6 separate regions of the Homo sapiens genome follow, and all the other regions are linked to region 5. Evidence: promoter capture Hi-C in 16 types of primary human blood cells and fetal thymus (Javierre and others, 2016). All regions are on one chromosome and are shown on one strand. Each heading gives the region's core, a stretch centred on a gene start or on the middle of the fragment in contact. The rest is flanking DNA. Distances are from core to core; before and after follow the strand shown. Region 1 overlaps LOC124907896 (a long non-coding RNA gene). Region 2 has its middle 4.7 kb from the start of EPC2. Region 3 holds the start of LYPD6B (LY6/PLAUR domain containing 6B). Region 4 overlaps KIF5C (kinesin family member 5C). Region 5 holds the start of RBM43 (RNA binding motif protein 43). Region 6 has its middle 92 kb from the start of EPC2.

What was found. The method cuts DNA at HindIII sites, captures the fragments that hold promoters and counts their contacts. A CHiCAGO score of 5 or more calls a contact.
Region 1: a contact is called between a fragment that was not itself captured here and the fragment with the promoter of RBM43 in region 5, in 1 of 17 cell types (total CD4 T cells). The highest score is 5.6, in total CD4 T cells.
Region 2: a contact is called between a fragment that was not itself captured here and the fragment with the promoter of RBM43 in region 5, in 1 of 17 cell types (total CD4 T cells). The highest score is 8.7, in total CD4 T cells.
Region 3: the fragment with the promoter of LYPD6B here is called in contact with the fragment with the promoter of RBM43 in region 5 in 1 of 17 cell types (M2 macrophages); the score reaches 5.4 in M2 macrophages.
Region 4: a contact is called between a fragment that was not itself captured here and the fragment with the promoter of RBM43 in region 5, in 3 of 17 cell types (total CD4 T cells, activated CD4 T cells and naive CD8 T cells). The highest score is 9.3, in total CD4 T cells.
Region 6: a contact is called between a fragment that was not itself captured here and the fragment with the promoter of RBM43 in region 5, in 1 of 17 cell types (non-activated CD4 T cells). The highest score is 6.8, in non-activated CD4 T cells.

Annotation. Positions count from the first base shown.
Region 1 is chr2:148,521,124-148,523,823 of GRCh38, reverse strand. It overlaps LOC124907896 (a long non-coding RNA gene), which reads right to left. Exons shown (of 2, transcript XR_007087259.1): 2 at 1-2,117. Among named protein-coding and RNA genes, the nearest start is that of EPC2, 120 kb to the left of the region's middle. RefSeq lists an enhancer at 93-630. The HindIII fragment of the contact is 358 bases long and covers 1,100-1,457 here.
Region 2 is chr2:148,638,660-148,641,359 of GRCh38, reverse strand. No RefSeq gene overlaps it. Among named protein-coding and RNA genes, the nearest start is that of EPC2, 4.7 kb to the left of the region's middle. The HindIII fragment of the contact is 2,630 bases long and covers 117-2,700 here.
Region 3 is chr2:149,037,349-149,040,048 of GRCh38, reverse strand. LYPD6B (LY6/PLAUR domain containing 6B) reads right to left here and starts at 1,350. Exons shown (of 7, transcript NM_177964.5): 1 at 1,248-1,350. RefSeq lists enhancers at 858-917, 958-1,007, 2,221-2,280 and silencers at 1,088-1,247, 1,258-1,597. The HindIII fragment of the contact is 3,848 bases long and covers 1-2,055 here.
Region 4 is chr2:149,012,982-149,015,681 of GRCh38, reverse strand. All of the region lies in intron 25 of KIF5C (kinesin family member 5C), which reads right to left. Among named protein-coding and RNA genes, the nearest start is that of LYPD6B, 24 kb to the left of the region's middle. The HindIII fragment of the contact is 4,420 bases long and covers 1-2,700 here.
Region 5 is chr2:151,260,538-151,263,237 of GRCh38, reverse strand. It overlaps RBM43 (RNA binding motif protein 43), which reads left to right and starts at 1,375. Exons shown (of 4, transcript NM_198557.3): 1 at 1,375-1,513. The coding sequence starts at 1,511. RefSeq lists an enhancer at 1,292-1,521 and a silencer at 1,562-1,831. The HindIII fragment of the contact is 8,034 bases long and covers 1-2,700 here.
Region 6 is chr2:148,551,573-148,554,301 of GRCh38, reverse strand. No RefSeq gene overlaps it. Among named protein-coding and RNA genes, the nearest start is that of EPC2, 92 kb to the left of the region's middle. RefSeq lists an enhancer at 1-500. The HindIII fragment of the contact is 1,011 bases long and covers 840-1,850 here.

The sequences.
Region 1 (2,700 bases), core at 29-2,528, 2.7 Mb after region 5:
GAAAATGGGGTGGGTTTGAGGGCAGAGCACCTGCCCTTTTCCACTTTCTACTGGCTTGGGAGACCTGCTGCCACCCCACTTCCACCATGATCTGGCTTCTGCTTACTTTCTATGCTTACTGTCTACCCCTCTTCTTCCTTATGTTACATTCAAGACTTATTAAATCCCTTACAGTTCCCAGAAAATCATGCTGTTCTCTACCCCTCCTTACCCCTCAGCCCCACTCCTGATCTCTGCACTTCTTTTCCTCTTTCTTGAATGTCTTTTGCCCCTGCTGGCCATGCCTGAACTCCTATTCTTTCATAAGTCACTTAACTCGATTTATTTAAGCCTCCCAGTGTTCCAAAGCCCATTGTAATGCATACCTGGTTTGTGGCTCCTGTCAGTGTCTTGCAATGACTGTTTCCATGTCTTTCTCATCTGCTGGAACATGAGCTCTTTTTTTCACTTTATCTCAGAGTTAAGATGATCTATAAATTCTTGAATGACTGAACAAACAAATGCAACCCCTTAGAAACCTAGGCATTACCTGGAAGCATGGAAATTTACCCAAATTGCTTTATGGATGTTTTTGTTGTTCACCTGGTTTAGTCTTTAGGATTATAAAGCCTCCAGAGCTCTGGGTTCGGATTAAAAATCTGCCATGAGCCAGTTTCCCTCAGGGCTGGGCTCCTAAGGGAAAATGCCTCAGAGTGGCTAACTATAGGATCCCTGGGAAACATTTGTCCTTGTGCCTTGAAAAGGCCTTAGCACATGAGTCAGGATACCTTACAATTTCACTTGTACAGTGTTTGCAAAGCACCTTCATATGTGTGTTCATGTGAATTTCGTGATAACACTGTGGGGTAGGCAGGGTAATATCATGGCCTAAACAGATGCAAAAACTCAGGTTCAGAGAAGGTGAGGCACTTGCCCAAGCTCACACAGCTAACAAGAGAGCTGAAAATAGAACACAGGTTAGCTCCTGCTCCACAATACCATGACCTTATCAATGAGTTGACAAGAACCATCCTCCTTGGGTACTTGTCAAGAAAGCTGGGAGGCTGGGAATGGGTGGAGTACACGTGCGTGTGTAGAGTCAGGAGGCCTGACCCAAGCTTGGGAAGTTCTGCAATGGCTTCGGTGTGCCCTGTGGTTATCCCCTTGTATACTGGGTAGGTGACTCTCCTGAGCAGGTGACAGAGCCTGGCAGTGATCCTGCCTCGGATCCAGATAAATATATTTGGATAGAAACTTTGAGCTTGTAGACAGATCAAGATTACTCACATAACCTGATATAAAGCACAGCTTCCATGTTAGTTACCAGATTTTCAAGAATTCTTTCCTTCTATTCTTCTTTCCTTTACCATTTAATTAGAATTGATCATATGCAGCTGAAGAGGAAAACCTGGGTTCTTCTTTGAAGAGCTCATTTTGATGGTTTGGTTCCATCACTGCCTATGCTCATTGGAGAAGCTTATTAGGACCTTCCAGTATTCTGTCACTCAGGCCAAGACTGCCAAAGTTGAATGCACACACCCTGGCCATGATGCAAGGCAATCCACTGGGAAGAGGGAGGAAAATATAAACCTATCAGTTCATCTCAGTTACCTAGTTTCTATTTTGTGTGTTTTATAACACATATGATATATTAATTCAGTAGCACACATAAAGTACATATGCACATATGTATATATGCATAGTATGTCCTCAATTTTATTTTTACTTTACTGATAGGAATTCTTGAAGAAAAGTTTGGAGACCATTGCCTTAGAGAAAGGAAAGCTATGCTCTGAGACAGGAACCACACAGCTCTTTCGCTGTGTTCTCTGCTCAGAAAGCTGCGGGGTCTTCACAATGGCCATTGTCATGGCTTGATTCTTTTGGCCAACATGGTTGCCTTAGAAGGCACAAGGCACACACTTCCCCTACCACCCCCACCCTTCACCCCCTTCAGGATCCCCTGGACATTTGGGAAGAGCCAGGAAACCAAGAGAAATGGAGAAGGAAATGGTCTCTTCTTGCCTTTGCTGACTCTTGCCTAGACAGACAGCTTGTCCAGAAGCAGCCCAGTGCATCTCTTCATTCCAATTCTTGCATGCTTTTTTCTCCCAGCTCTGGTGAATGTTTGCTTCCCACTTTGCCAAATAAACCAGAACAGTGACAATTAGCCTGAAATCACAAGCTCCTGACCTCCATGCTTATTTAGGAATTCAAAGGAATCCACCGATTCTAAATAATCCTGATTTGATTGGAAAAGGGAGACAGAGTCTGTAAAAGGTCACAGGAGATTTTCCCTAAGGTTATCTCCCTGACCACCAAAGTTATTTAAGATTAACTTGGCAGGGAAAGCTGTGTTCTAGGGGGACCTGGTCACAGTTCAGGGACCAAAGCCTCAGGCCACCAGTCCTTCTGGCTGTGTTCCTCATACACAGTGTTCTGCAGTGGGAGCTGGAAGGACAGGAAACCCCACAGAGGCTCTGCTAAAACCCTCACAGAGGCTCAGCTAAACCTACCCCCTCTACCGGTGCTGAACACATTCTGCCCCCATCTTTTAGCAAGATATGCCCAAGTCTTCAGTCTGGAAAAGTCTAGGTACAGAATTTAGACATGAACTTCCAATTAAGAAATAAATAATCATCCTTAATAGCACTTAAAAATACTACCACTTACAATATTAGTGCTTTCTTCTCCCCTTTTAAAAGCATTCTTCCATGTATT
Region 2 (2,700 bases), core at 182-2,681, 2.6 Mb after region 5:
CTAATTGGCTCCTGGTTTCAGCAAAACCATTTGAAAGTTAATTGGGTTAGTATGTGAACTGCATCTCCACCCCTCCCCCTTATGTTCCCAGGAATGAGCCTAGTACTAATAAAGCTTCGTTGTTTTCCATATGTAATCTGAATGTGGGGTCTGCATTCATTACAATCAACTGGAATCAGTTCTGTGGTTCCAGTGCCCTTTTCTGAGGCAGCTCTGCATCTTTGAGACATAGGGACAGAGACTACACTGAGAGGTGACCTGCCAAACATCTACTTCTACCTCTGCATTTGCCACCGTGGGAATAGCAGATGGTAAATAAAAATTTGTGACTGTGGCTCAGTTTCTTAGCAGCATCGCTCCTCTCAGACCTGGTTGGAATCACAGGGTGCCACCTTGTGTATAAGCTGACGATTTACTTCCCAGCTCCACAAAGGATCCAAATAGACTCCAAAATAATCAGCCTGAAAGCTCTGCATTTTGGTAACTAAAAAAAAAAGAAACAGATTTGAAAACACACAGCTCCAGAGGGTCCACAACACCCAATTTTGAATTGCACTGACAGCCTGTCTCATTTGTTGCCCCACCCGGACCGTAAAACACAACCAGTGCTCCACATTTGGAATAGATTGACGCTGCTCACTCAGGCTTTTGGATGGGGATAAGAGAAATAAGTAAAGCTCTTGTGATGAAGCTAACAAATCTGACTTGGACAGTTATGTGTGTCCAAACAGCAAGCAAGCTATGTAGATGTAATTTCAGGATTTTTTTTTTCTTTCTTTTTTTTTTTTTTTTTTTTGAGATGGAGTCTCTGTCACCCAGGCTGGAGTGCAGTGGTGCAATCTTGGCTCACTGCAACCTCTGCTTCCTGGGTTCAAGCAATTCTCCTGCCTCAGCCTCCTGAGTAGCTGAGATTACAGGCACATGCCACCACGCCTGGCTAATTTTTGTATTTTTAGTAGAGACAGGGTTTTGCCATGTTGGTCAGGCTGGTCTTGAACTCCTGACCTCATGATCTGCCTGCCTCAGCCTCCCAAAGTGCTGGGATTACAGGAGTGAGCCACCGTACCTGGCCTGGACTTTGGATTTTTGAGAGGCACTAGGTTCCATTGAGCTGATGAATATGAGCCTACTTGTTTTAATAAAATAAGTAAAATAATTATTTTTAAAAATAAGTACTTATTTTAATAAAATTGGATGATAGTGAGGTTTTAAAAATGACCGAGTTTGGAACAGAAATACAATTGTTGGAGCAAGGCCACGGGAGGTTAAAAAATAGGATCCTTTCCAATCCAGCTACCTTGCCCTTGAGAAATTCCACACTTGGAGGAAACCCACTCTAAATTCAGCACAGCTGTCATTCAGCTGAAGACACTATTACATTCATGGAACTAGCTGGATGATTCATATTATTTTCATAAGGGTGTTGGAGTGGAGATCCTGGGGCTTTGGGGGCTACAGATGCACACCCACTGTTGGTTTAGGGCTCCTGAAATGTATATTCTTCACAGTTTCTGTCTCCATTGGTGCATCCTGTTCTCCTGAGGCACCTCTGAAAGGTAACTTGGAAGGTTGTTTCAATCCCTGTGAAGGCAGTTCAGTCTCACTGACTTTGCTGGCCCATCTCAGACAACAAGCAGGCTCAGAGCACCAAGCTCACTGGGGTCCAAGTGTTAGCTAAGAGGAGTCCATTGTTAGGAAACTTGGGTTGCTCGTCTAAACATGGTTCCTCTCACCTATTTTTTTAAATCTCTACCACCAACAAAAGATTAAATGTTTATAACCACAGATTTGTGAATGGCGTATGCAGCTGGAATCCTGAATTGAAGAAAATCGGTGAATTGATTTATTAACAGCCATGCCTTACTGATCTGATCTTTTGTTGTCCCCTAGAACAAAATAACCTGTTTCCTAAGAAAAAGGTTCTGATAGTAGCATACTGAGAGCCCCTTAAATTCCACAGTGACTTGTTAGGAGGTAGAAAGGAAAGCCACTTTGTTTTCTCCAAATTAGAAGACAGATTTACTTGTCTTTCCTCAGCTATTAAAGGTGACTTTGGCAGGGAAAGAAACAGAGACCACTGAAATAAAACACACTAATTACTTAGAAATTTACTGACTCACCCATACCTCTCACCTTGTTTCAGAAAGGATTTCAAGTGGCTTTTAAGAGTTGCTAAAATATGCTAGGATAGCATTTGGGTTCTAAATTTCCTAGTAACACGAAATTAGGAAACTTTGTCAGCTTCACAGCTCACAATATCCATTAGATAAAATGACTGCTCAGGAGAGTTACAGTTGTTCCTGGTACTCATTGCAATGTCCAAGAGTCTTTATAAATAGAGCAACTAGGTGATATAACAGATATTTCAACAGTAATCTTACAATAGATACAAAAGGGGCATCTAAGGGCTGTTTCTTATAGTGACCCTCCATATACACTGACGGCATTATACGCAATCCAGCACAACCAATTCTGCAGAGGTTAGAATGGAGCTGGATGTCTGAAGCCATGAGCCCCACCCCATACAGATCTGGGAGTATGAATGGACCCTACGGCCCCCAGGCAATCCTGCCTGAAGATTCTTTTTCTCTCAACTGTCTCCTGATAAACTGTCCTGCTGAGAGCTCAAAATTGTGCACTATTACAATTGCCTGAAGTGCAGCTCTTCTAAATGCCCAATTAAGGGCAGGCCCACACGCC
Region 3 (2,700 bases), core at 101-2,600, 2.2 Mb after region 5:
GATATACAAGAGAGAGAACTAGCCCTGGAACCTTGTATGAGCCTCTGGAACTAGCTATAGCTTTAAACTGAAACCCTCGACCTTTTCATTTATGTGACCCAATCAATTTCTACATAGTATAAGGCAATTTTCAAGTGACCAAAACCCAACCCAAAGAAAACAATTCTGACAAATACGATGGGTAATGATGAGGGCAGTCTGACAACACCCCCTCCATCTGCAGGGCCCGTGCACTGGCAGCCCTAATCTTGGCCTCTGTGATGCTGTCAGCAAGTAAGGCATCCTGGAGGAAGCCTAACCATGAACAAGTCAGGGTGGGAAAGAATGCCCCCACCCCACAACACACACATCACCACATCAACACAAAGGGGGAAAAATCAAGCAGTATGCTATGTACTCCATGAACATCATATAACCTAAGTCTGTTGTAATGATTATAATATTAATAATACCTATTTTACTTTAAGGGAACTGAGGCTCAGAGCAGTTCAGTAACTTGCCCAAGGTCACACAGCTAGTTACTGGAATTTAAATAGCATTCTAGACTTTTCCCACTCTCTGATCCCCTGGCCTTGGGAGGTGGACAGCACCCCTCCACCCACCAGCTCCCCCCAAACGCCACAGGGCATACAGACCTGAAGCCTCACAACCCAAGCCCCCTGGAGTCAGAGCAGCCTCCAGACCCGGCTTTTGAGAAGCCCCAGGTAACTAACCAATGTGTAAGGTAGGTTATTCAACAACAAAAGTAAAGAGCCGGGGCAAGGGAAGCGGCGGCACCCAAGCTGGTCGCGCGTGAAGCGCTGCAGGGGGAAACACTGGAGCTGGCACGCTCGCTCTTGGCCCCACGATCGGCCTTGAACCCCAGCCCCAGCTCCGCGCTCTCTCCAGCAGTTTGACCCCCAGTATCTCCTCTCCCCTCGGCTCTGCCGAAGTCACTGGCCCCGCAGGGCTCTGGACGATTAGAGACCCACACCGCTCCAGCCTTGCCCCGGCCCCCTGCTCCCGTCCCGTCCAGATGTTGGCAGCTGCTCGCCTCGAGGCAGCGACCAGACCCCGACCCCGCCACTGCGCCGCGGCCCCGCGGCCCCGCGGCCCCGCGGCCCCGCGAGCTCCTGGCTGCCCCAGCGCGCCCAGAAGGGGCGCAGCGCATCTCCCGCCGCAGTCGCGCGGCCCCGCACTCGCTCCGGCGCGGGGTGAGCCGTCCCGAACCCACCACCGCCCCCGCCTGCTGCGCTGGCCCAGCTCACCTCGCCGCCCGCGCCCACCGAGCCTCTCGGCGCCCTCACCCGGCTCCCGGCCCAGGCTCCCAGCGCACCCGCCTGGGGCCGGCGTTGGCTGCTACCGCGCGGGGCGGGGCGCGGCTCCTCCCTGCCCTGAACCACCTGGGGCGCGGGAGGGGGCCGGGCCGGGACAGGTGAGCCTCGCCCGCGAGGGAGCAGCCCCGGGCCCGGCTCCGCTGGGAAACCGCAGGGCTCCACCACGAGGTTGAAAGGAGGCCCAGGCGGGCGGCAGTGTGGTAGTGGCCAGCGCTGGGGAGGCGGCAAGGAGCCTGTTCCCACCCAGCCAGCCCGGCTCAGGAAGTGAAAGAAGCACGGGATTCGGACCCCACCCAGCTTAAAGAGGGGAGGGTCCAACCCCTTTCTTCCTAGAAAACCAATGTAGAAACGAGGAGTGCAGACCCTCGGGAGTGAAAATGATTGGGCCAAGGGTGCAGGTGAGTTAGTTCAGGATTGGAAGAACTCTGAAAGACCTTTTTTGACCATTCCATCCAACCCCGTCCCCACCTTGCCCACCCGTCAAGTGATTCCCTCCCCCTTTTTAAATAATGACATTAAGCTATAAATAAGATAATTTCATATAGTGACGTCCTCCCCACCCCTGGACGGTAAGCCCCAGGAGAGGCAGGAACCTTACCCGTCCACTACTGAATCACCAGAGCTTTGAAAACTCAGGGCATTTAATACCTGATGAACAGACTAGGTGGCGCCCAGTCTTTTGCGTCCAGCGTTAGACTGGTCCCCTCGGCCCAGAGCTGCTCCAGCATCATTCCAAGCTTACTAGGGAGAATCCAGAGGCAAGCTGTTAGATTCCGGGCCACCTGTCCTCTCTCTACTGCTTACTCCCCACCCACTGCCAGCCAGGCAGCTGGGATGTGGGAGGTCTACACTCCCAGGGCACCTTATAGTGGTCAAGCAAATCTTTAACTTCTGAAGATGCCACAGACAGGAGAACTCTGAAATAAAACACTGTCCGGCCAGCCTTGCACTGTGGAAACACAGCTCAGAGTATGGGCCACTGACCCAAGATTCCATGGCTGGTAGCAAAGCTGATCCTGGGTCTGCATTTCTAAAGACAGTTGGCTGGTCTGGGGCCTTTGAGGGGCTGCTGGTTATGCCTGCAGTGGGGAAACCTGGGTACAGAACTTCTGCAGAAGTGGGGTCTGGGTTTGGTCCTCTGCTGAGACTTCTAATCTGTCTTTCCAGACCTCTGAGGTCAAGCATCTCCTGAGCCAGCTTGCATTTATTGAGGCCCCTGACAACCGCAAAAACAAAAACAATGGTATTTTTAGGTGTTCCATTTAACAAATGGCCTTCACTCACACACACACACACACACACACACACACACACACACACACACGAGGTAATGTGTCATGCTGCTCCTCACATGTTAATTTCAAGACTCGTTAAAAAAATCCAT
Region 4 (2,700 bases), core at 15-2,514, 2.2 Mb after region 5:
CCCTGTGGATTTGAACCAGATAAGATCAAAGCCAGCATTATCCTGGGTTCTTTTGATTTTTGTATATTGGCATCTTCATAGGCTCTGAAACCTTGAGAATAAACCAAAATACTCATTATGGCTATAATTCTTGAACCCTGAAATGAAGCAGAAGGAAATTCCAAAGATATCCAGCTGTAAGAATATGTGCTTTGACTCCACAGGAGGGCTGGGAAGACACAATTGAGATCATTTCTACCCAGGGAAGAGATACTTCAGAATGAAAATCCCAAAGGTCAGGAAAGACTGTCTCAAAAAGGCTTTGCTCTCATCTAAGCAATGAATTCCATATTTTCAATTACTTTTCAAAAAGGATTTAGCATTTCTTTACTTTTCAATTGCAATTCCTGAATCTGTTGATTACTACCCCTTTTTAATCTCCACTGACAAATGCCCAGTCATTTCTTAAAAATAGTCATAGCTTGTAGATAAGTAAATTATATATATATGTTTTTTAGATAGGCTCTCACTTTGTCACCTAGGCTGGAGTGCAGTGGCACAATCTCGGCTCACTGCAACCTCTGCCTCCTGGGTTCAAGCAATTCTCCACTTCAACCTCCCAAGTAGCTAGGGTTACAGGTGTGCATGTCTACGCCCAGCTAATTTTTCTATTTTTAGTAGGGAAGGATGTTTCACCATGTTGGCCAGGCTGGTCTTGAACTCCTGACCTAAAGTGATCTGCCCACCTCAGCTTCCCAAAGTGCTGGGATTACAGGCATGACCCGCCATGCCCGGCCAATATTATCTTTAAAAGCCCTTATGTCAGTTCATAGCAACAACTAGGATACTCAGTTAGAAATAGGCCTTCCCTATCCAGTCGCCAGGATTTATTGCTATAGAGGAACTAAAAACCATTTAGTAACAACTATATGAATTAAAGGACACTATAAACCAACATGTATCAACTACCACCTTCTGCAGTGCTCATCTATACTAGCAGCTAACATTTTTATTGAGCAATTGTTATGGGCTTAGAAGCATGACCTCATTTAAGCCTTCTGTCAATGCCAATGACCAACATAAAAGATTTTCCCCATTTCATATATGAGGAAACAGACCTGAGTTTAAGTAACTTGAAGGAAGTGGAAGACCTAACACCTGAACCCAGGTCCCTTGTCCAATGCCAGTCCCCTCAGCCACACTGCCATCCTGAGAGCTGTAAGAGGGGGCCTGTTTATTTTGTAACCTGGTGAGAGAAGCACCTAGTTACAGAAGCTGTGTCTGAAGCTGTGTGGAGAAGGTATGTCAAGGAGGCTCTGAATTCAGATAAAACCATCAAAACCACTTGTAACACTTTGAGTAAAGAAACAAATTGCCAGCTGGGTGCAGTAGCTCACGCTTGTAATCCCAGCACTTTGGGAAGCTGAGGTGGGGGGAATCACTTGAAGTTAGGAGTTCAAGACCAGCCTGGCCAACATGGTGAAACCCTGTCTCTACTAAAAATACAAAAACTAGCTGGGCATGGTGGCACATGCCTGTAATCCCAGCTACTCGGGAGGCTGAGGCAGGAGAATCGTTTGAACCCAGGAGGCAGAGGATGCAGTGAGCCAAGATCATGCCATTGCACTCCAGCCTGGGCAACAAGAGTGAAACTCCATCTCGAAAAGATGATGATGGGTTGATGGGTGCAGCAAACCATCATGGCACATGTATACTTATGTGACAAACCTGGACATTGAGCACATGTATCCCAGAACTTAAAGTAAAATTAAAAAAAAATGCCACAATGGGTGAGGGTGGTTCTTTCACTCCGAAGGTCTTGAAAGTCTCCCCAGACCTACTGATTTTCACTCTTCTGTATGAGAAGAGGCTACACTGGTGATGAATGGCCAGCATTTGGTTGTTTGGAGCCTACATAAAATATGGGACTGGCAGACCTTTGTTGGAACCCATGAAGAAGGTGACTGTCCCACTGCACAATCTCTGGACCCCAGAATCCCTGGACCAGTATATTTAGTAAGGCCTTGCTGGGAAACACACATACACCTCTATGTGTGCTTTCATCAAATGAGGTGATGCCTATATTACATCTAGCCCAGTGCTGCAGCATATTAGGTGGTCCATAATGCACAGTATGCCAGCTGCCCACCTCAACATCCACTCTCCCTGTCCTTGCTCTAAAAGCATTACCTTTCTTTGGGGTAGTGATGTGCCCAGCTAAAAGACTACCTTTTCCAGCTAGATGTGGCCATGTGGCTCAGTGCTGTCCAGGGAAAGGGAGGCATCAGCATTGCATGGGGCTTCAGGAAGGCTACTTAAAGGAGATTCATTCAGGACGGCTGCTTTTGCCTCTTCTCTGCTTCCTCTCTGGTTGCTAAAGTTGGAATGTAGGCATGATGGCTGAAACTGAAGTCATTTGGTGACCTTGAGCTGGCCTTGAGTTCAGGAGGCAGGCACGTGCTTAACCTAGTTAAGAGGCTAGGTTTCTGTTTTCACTGTGGAGATTCTTAACTACTGATGTACCACCTTCAAATTTCCCTTACATAAGACAGACGTAAACCGCCATCCTGTATAAACCATGGAGAGTTTTCAAACTTCGATGAATATCAGAATCACCTGGAGTACTTGGTTAAAAAGACAAACAAAGCCCAGGCCCTTCCTCTTCTAAGGAGCCTGGGCCTCTGGGTGCTCAAGGATGCTCACATCCACCAAAGTTCGATG
Region 5 (2,700 bases), core at 126-2,625:
AATTGCTGAGACTAAGAATATGTGCATTTTACATTTTTTTGCACTTTACATTTTGATAAAAATCTTTAGAAGTATTTGCATCCATCTATGCTTGCAGCAACTCTGATGCTTACATTCAGGCTAACACTTTCTGGTTTTGCAGATCTAGTTGTGAAAAATGGTATCTTATTATTTCAATTTACATTTCTTAGGAGTGGGATTGGGTTTCTTCATATCTGCTAGCCATCTACCTTTGTTCTTCATGCATTCATTGATTTGATTTTGAAGTTTGTCCAGAGATTCCCTGTGTCCCCACAGGCGCCATTCGGGGTTCCTGTGCTAAGGCATGGACAAGGTGGTGAGCTCTCTGCTGGCAGGGACCTGGCGCTCTCATCCTGTGTCCTTAGCACCCGGCAGAGGTCCAAGAGGGCTCCTGGTCTGGGCTGGGAAGGTGACCAACACGGCGTTGGGGGTTGAGGTGGGGGTTGGGGAACTGGGGTAGGTTGTGCAGAGGAAAAGGCCCAGGTGAGCGGTGGGGGAAGGGGAAGAAGTCTGGACAGATAATAAGGGCGTAGGAAAGACATCCAGATTTCACTGAGTGCAGGGCTTTTTAAAACTGATGTTAGAAAAACTTGATTTGCTGTTGTAAAAAACCATCTGTGTGAAGTAGAAATTGATATCAATAACATGATAGAGAATACGTTCTAAAAAGTAAAGGTAGCTGGATGTAAAATTCTGGCAGAAGTTTAATATCCTAGATGGTTAGTTTGAGGCCAGCAACTAATGAGGATAAAAGCCTTCTCCATGGAAAATTTTGGACAGTTATCTGGAGAAATATTACAGTGCGCATCAACCAAATTGAAATGTTTTCAAAAGTGTTGTAAAGTTTCATGTAGTAAAAAGGTTTTAGCCACATGCCCTTCAATTTCATGGCATCGAATATATAAACACAGAAGAGAGCATGCATGCAAGATATTTAACTCCCTTACATGATAATGCATGCGATTCAAAACTATCATGACATCTAGGGCTCTCTGCAACTACGAGATGATTGATGTTAGGAAAAGCGTAGCCCCCCAGTATCAACACAGGAAGCGGCCACCACCTACTATGTGTTTTCCCTTTTTGCGTTTTTTCTTTTTTTAAATCAACTCTGCCGTTGTTGCTGCTGCTTAGCAAAACGGGTAAAAACAAAATTGCAATCACTGATGCATCACCCAGAGAATTCCCAAATTTCCTGTCGAGGAATCCTCTCGGCCTCTCTCCAGAGTGCTTCCACAAGTTGCAAAACTACGGAGGGCGTCTGGGCAGGCGCTGGCAACAGCACTCCTGAGTCCGAGCTCCCACTCAGAGGCCACGAGGTCGCAGAACAGCCGGATCGGGTGGAAGGACCGCCCTTTTCTTCGTAGCCTCCAAGGGAGCTGGAACAAAAAACGAAACCAAAACCTGCCTGCTCGCTCCTCTCCCCATCGCCTGCGTTCCGCTGGTTGTGGGCTTTCTGCGGCCGCTGAGGGCGCGTCTCCCCTCCGCCATGGCAAGTTGCTTTTGCTTTGGGTTTTGCGGTGCAGGTCCGTGCCTGTACCGTCGCCATGGTCCCCTAGAAGGGCGCGGAACCGGGCGCGACGGGCCAGGGTGCAGGGCTGCGCGGGAGGGGGCGGCGCACGGAGGGGCCCCAGGGACCCCGGGGGCCCCGGAGAGCCGTCCACCCCGGCGGGCAAACTCAGGTCAGCCTCGCTGCACCCTTCCCAGGTGGCGGCATTGCGCGCTCCTGAAATTCACGTACGGCGGTGCAGTATAGGCCCGCTCCAGAGGCTCAGGACTAGGCTGTCACCTCCCACACCCACTGCCCAGGCGACGGGGACGCCGCCGTTCGTCGAGGAGCTGCTTCGCAGGCTGTTAGGGCTTAACTGTTGTCCTCCCACGCCTCGGGGGGAACAAAAGTGGCCTGATTAGCCAGAAATGGAGGTCACAGCTGCCTTTTGAAAAGGGCTAATAAGAACGATTCGAGCCAAGGACGCAAGTCAGGAAGACATCCTCATGTCTTATGTCTGCCTTGGTGCGAATTCTTGTCTTAGCAAATTCAAAATTTATCCTTCTGTGTTTTGTTTTGTTTCCATCAATCGCTTAAAAGCCTTGGCAAGGCCTTTAATTCCTGCTCTGAAATGCTAGAGTCCCGGAAATGCAAAAGCAAGTACGTTTTTGTTGACCTGGTGGCGGTAGAGGCGTCGTCATTGAAAATAAACAACTGATTTTGAGAAAATCAATATAAACAAATGCAGTCAATGAATCTTCTGTTTCTTCCCAATGCCTTACTTACAAAAGTAAAGTTTTGCTATATACTTTTTGCTTTCTGATAAGATGGCCAAGTCTGTTATAACACAATACTGATGCAAGGAAATGCGCCATCACGTTAGTATGTCTTGGCTAAAAGCTGCTCGTTTCAAAGTCCTTGAAAGGACTGTCTTTCTCTAGGCATTTCTTTATCTTAATCGTGGGTAGAAGAGATGAACAACCCTCATTATTCATAATTGACCTCAGTAAAATTATCTATGTTAGCCATACTTTCTCCAACCTATGAAAGGGAGTTAAGGACAAATATTGGCAAGTCATTGAAGTACTAATTCATTAGATGATTCATAGAAACTAGTTCTTACCAAACAAAATTTACATCTTTATGTTTTTTTCTTCTAAAAATACTGGTTCAGGGAGAAGTTTCTTTGA
Region 6 (2,729 bases), core at 96-2,595, 2.7 Mb after region 5:
GAACCACTGATGGAGAGCGTTGTGGGTCCTTGTAAGGAGTTCAGTTATACTCGAAGTGTGATGGAAGCCATCAGAAGATTCTAAGCAGGGGAGTGGCAAGAGCTGATGTTCATTTTCCTCTGCTATCCCCAGAGGAGCAGACCTCTCCAGTCATCCACTATCACCTGGACTTGCATCCCCTTCCTGCTGTGCTCGTCACCTGATTTGATCCAGTTTCCCACCCATTCTCTTCATTTCCTCCCTAACATTTCCACTGTGCCTTCTGGAAGCCCCAATCCTTGACTCTCAATTTTGCCTGTCCTCAGCCTACATCAGAGCCTCCCTCTTTCTTCCTTGCCTTAATTGGAGCCTGGCTGGTCCCAAGAGTACAACATTCACACAGCTGTTTCTGGCAGAGCCTGTCTGATATCTTACAGTCTGATATCTTACAAACCTTAGGGCCTGGAAGGAGTGTTGGTGCCTGCTTGTTCTCTACTGTTGCTCCTGGAACTTAACCTCTGTTACCTTTTACAAAATGTCCTACCCATTAAAAGCTCTGGCTTCCTGACTATACCACGCGATCACATGTCTTTTCTTTTCTTCCATGTGATCCATTCACTCATTCACTGGACTGCACCTCCTGGCTCCCCATCTTTTTCTCTGCATAGCCTTTCTTGACAATCTCATTAAAGTAACCATACAATGTCCCATCTAGCAGCCTGGCTTCTCAGTTTCCTGGACCTTCTCATCTCGAATGACGTTTTCTCCCTCCACTCCACCTCAAGGTCATAGCCTGAACCTTGTCACCACCAGAAACTGTTCTGCTGCTGCAAGCCCAAAGCCCCACTCTCTCATAAGCTTTCTGTCCTTGACACATACTTGAGCGTCTACTGTGACAATTCTTCAACTCTGTTGAGATCTCTTTTCTGTTGGCTCCACCGCCTTTTACAATTTGTCAGTCACCTTTCTGTTCACTCCTCGTGTCCAGCTTAGGGCTTATGGTTCATCACCATAAACAACTTCCTTCCAAAACTCTCATCCTCAGAATCCCCTTGCCTTTCCACGGAGTCTCCTACAAAATACTAAGTGAGCCCACCCATGTATCTCTCCACTCAAGCAGCTCGACATTACTATGGAAAAGTCAAGCAAGCAGGCTGCTTTCACTTTCAGTTCATCGCAGACCTCAAAGGGGTACTTGGAGCTACTAAGCAATATTGCTGTGTTTCTCTGTTAAAACCAGCATTCGTATTCTTCTAGGGTACTTTTTCATTCCTTTTTTATCCTTAAAACTCCCACTGCCCTTCCCTGCTTTTTAGTCTCAGCTGATGAACTCTCCTCGTTTCACTGAGGAAAGAGATGCTGTCCGATGGAAATGCTCACATTTCCCCACCTAGAAACCTACAAGCACAGCCACACTTGCTGGCCTCCTCTGCCCCTTCCCTGTCTGCTCAGCTGTGTCCAAGTGGCCTCCTATCATCCATTCAGTCCCTCCCATCAGCGTCTCCCTTGCTACTGTATCGTTCCCATTGGCACACACACCTGCTTCAGTATCGCCCATCTGTTTCTTCTGTAATTTATATCTGTACTTCCAAATAATACAGCTATTTTTAGGTTCTTCAATTTTAGACACTTATTGCCTTCCTGCACCCTCCTTGTGCATATTTCCCCTCCACCCACCCTCCCAACATCGTTACAGCACCATTTTTGGCTAAATCAATGTACTGTGCTAGCATTACTATAAGTACTCACAGCTGAACCATATAGGCTGTTATTCTTTTATGGGTCAACTTTGGTTTTCTTGGAATTACTAATTACCTCATTTTTTCATTGCTTAGTCTTCCAAATATTAATTACTAAGTTTTTGCTAAGCTTTCCAATCAAATTGCAAAAGTCCTCTCTTGAGTCACAGGTAACCATTCAAGACTGCTTCTTCACCCCCAAATCCAGCTACCGCCAATGAACAGCTCTGCTGGGAGTGTCACCTGTGCATGTGTGTGGCCTCTCCAGTGTGGTCAGGCTAGGGGAGTGGGACTTCTCACGCCGCAGTTCAGGACTCCAAGAGTGAGTATTCCTGAGACAGGGTGGAGGTCTCACGGCCTTTTATGACCTTACCTGGAAGTCACATAGGGTTGCTTCTCCCCTGTTGCAATGATGGAAGCAGTCAAAACCTCACCCAGATCATGGGGAAAAAAGCACAAAGCTATCCTCTCTATGGAAGGAATGTTCAGGAAGATTTATGGCCATGTTTTAAAGCTGCCACAGAGACAACTTATGTGAGATAATACTAAAATTGTGTTGAAAAATAGTCCAAACTTTTTCAAAGAATTTTCCTTTTTTTTTCTTTTTTGACACAATGTCTCACTCTCTTGCCCAGGCTGGTGTGCAGTGGCATGATCTCAGTTCACTGCAACCTCCGCCTCCTGGGATCAGGCGATTCTTGTGCCACAGCCTCTCTGGTTGCTGGAATTACAGGTATGCGCAACCACACCCAGCTAATTTTTGTGTGTGTGTGTGTATTTTTAGTAGAGATGGGGTTTCACCATGTTACCCAGGGTGGTCTGAAACTCCTGGCCTCAAGTGATCTGCTCGCCTAGGCTTCCCAAAGTATTGGGATTACAGGTGTGAGCCACTGCGCACAGCCAATAATTTTCATTGTTGTATATAGAAAATACAGAATTTCATGGCGATATCAGAAACATAAATACTGTACAGTATTGTCATGAGCTTAAGTAGAATATCTTTGGAGGGAA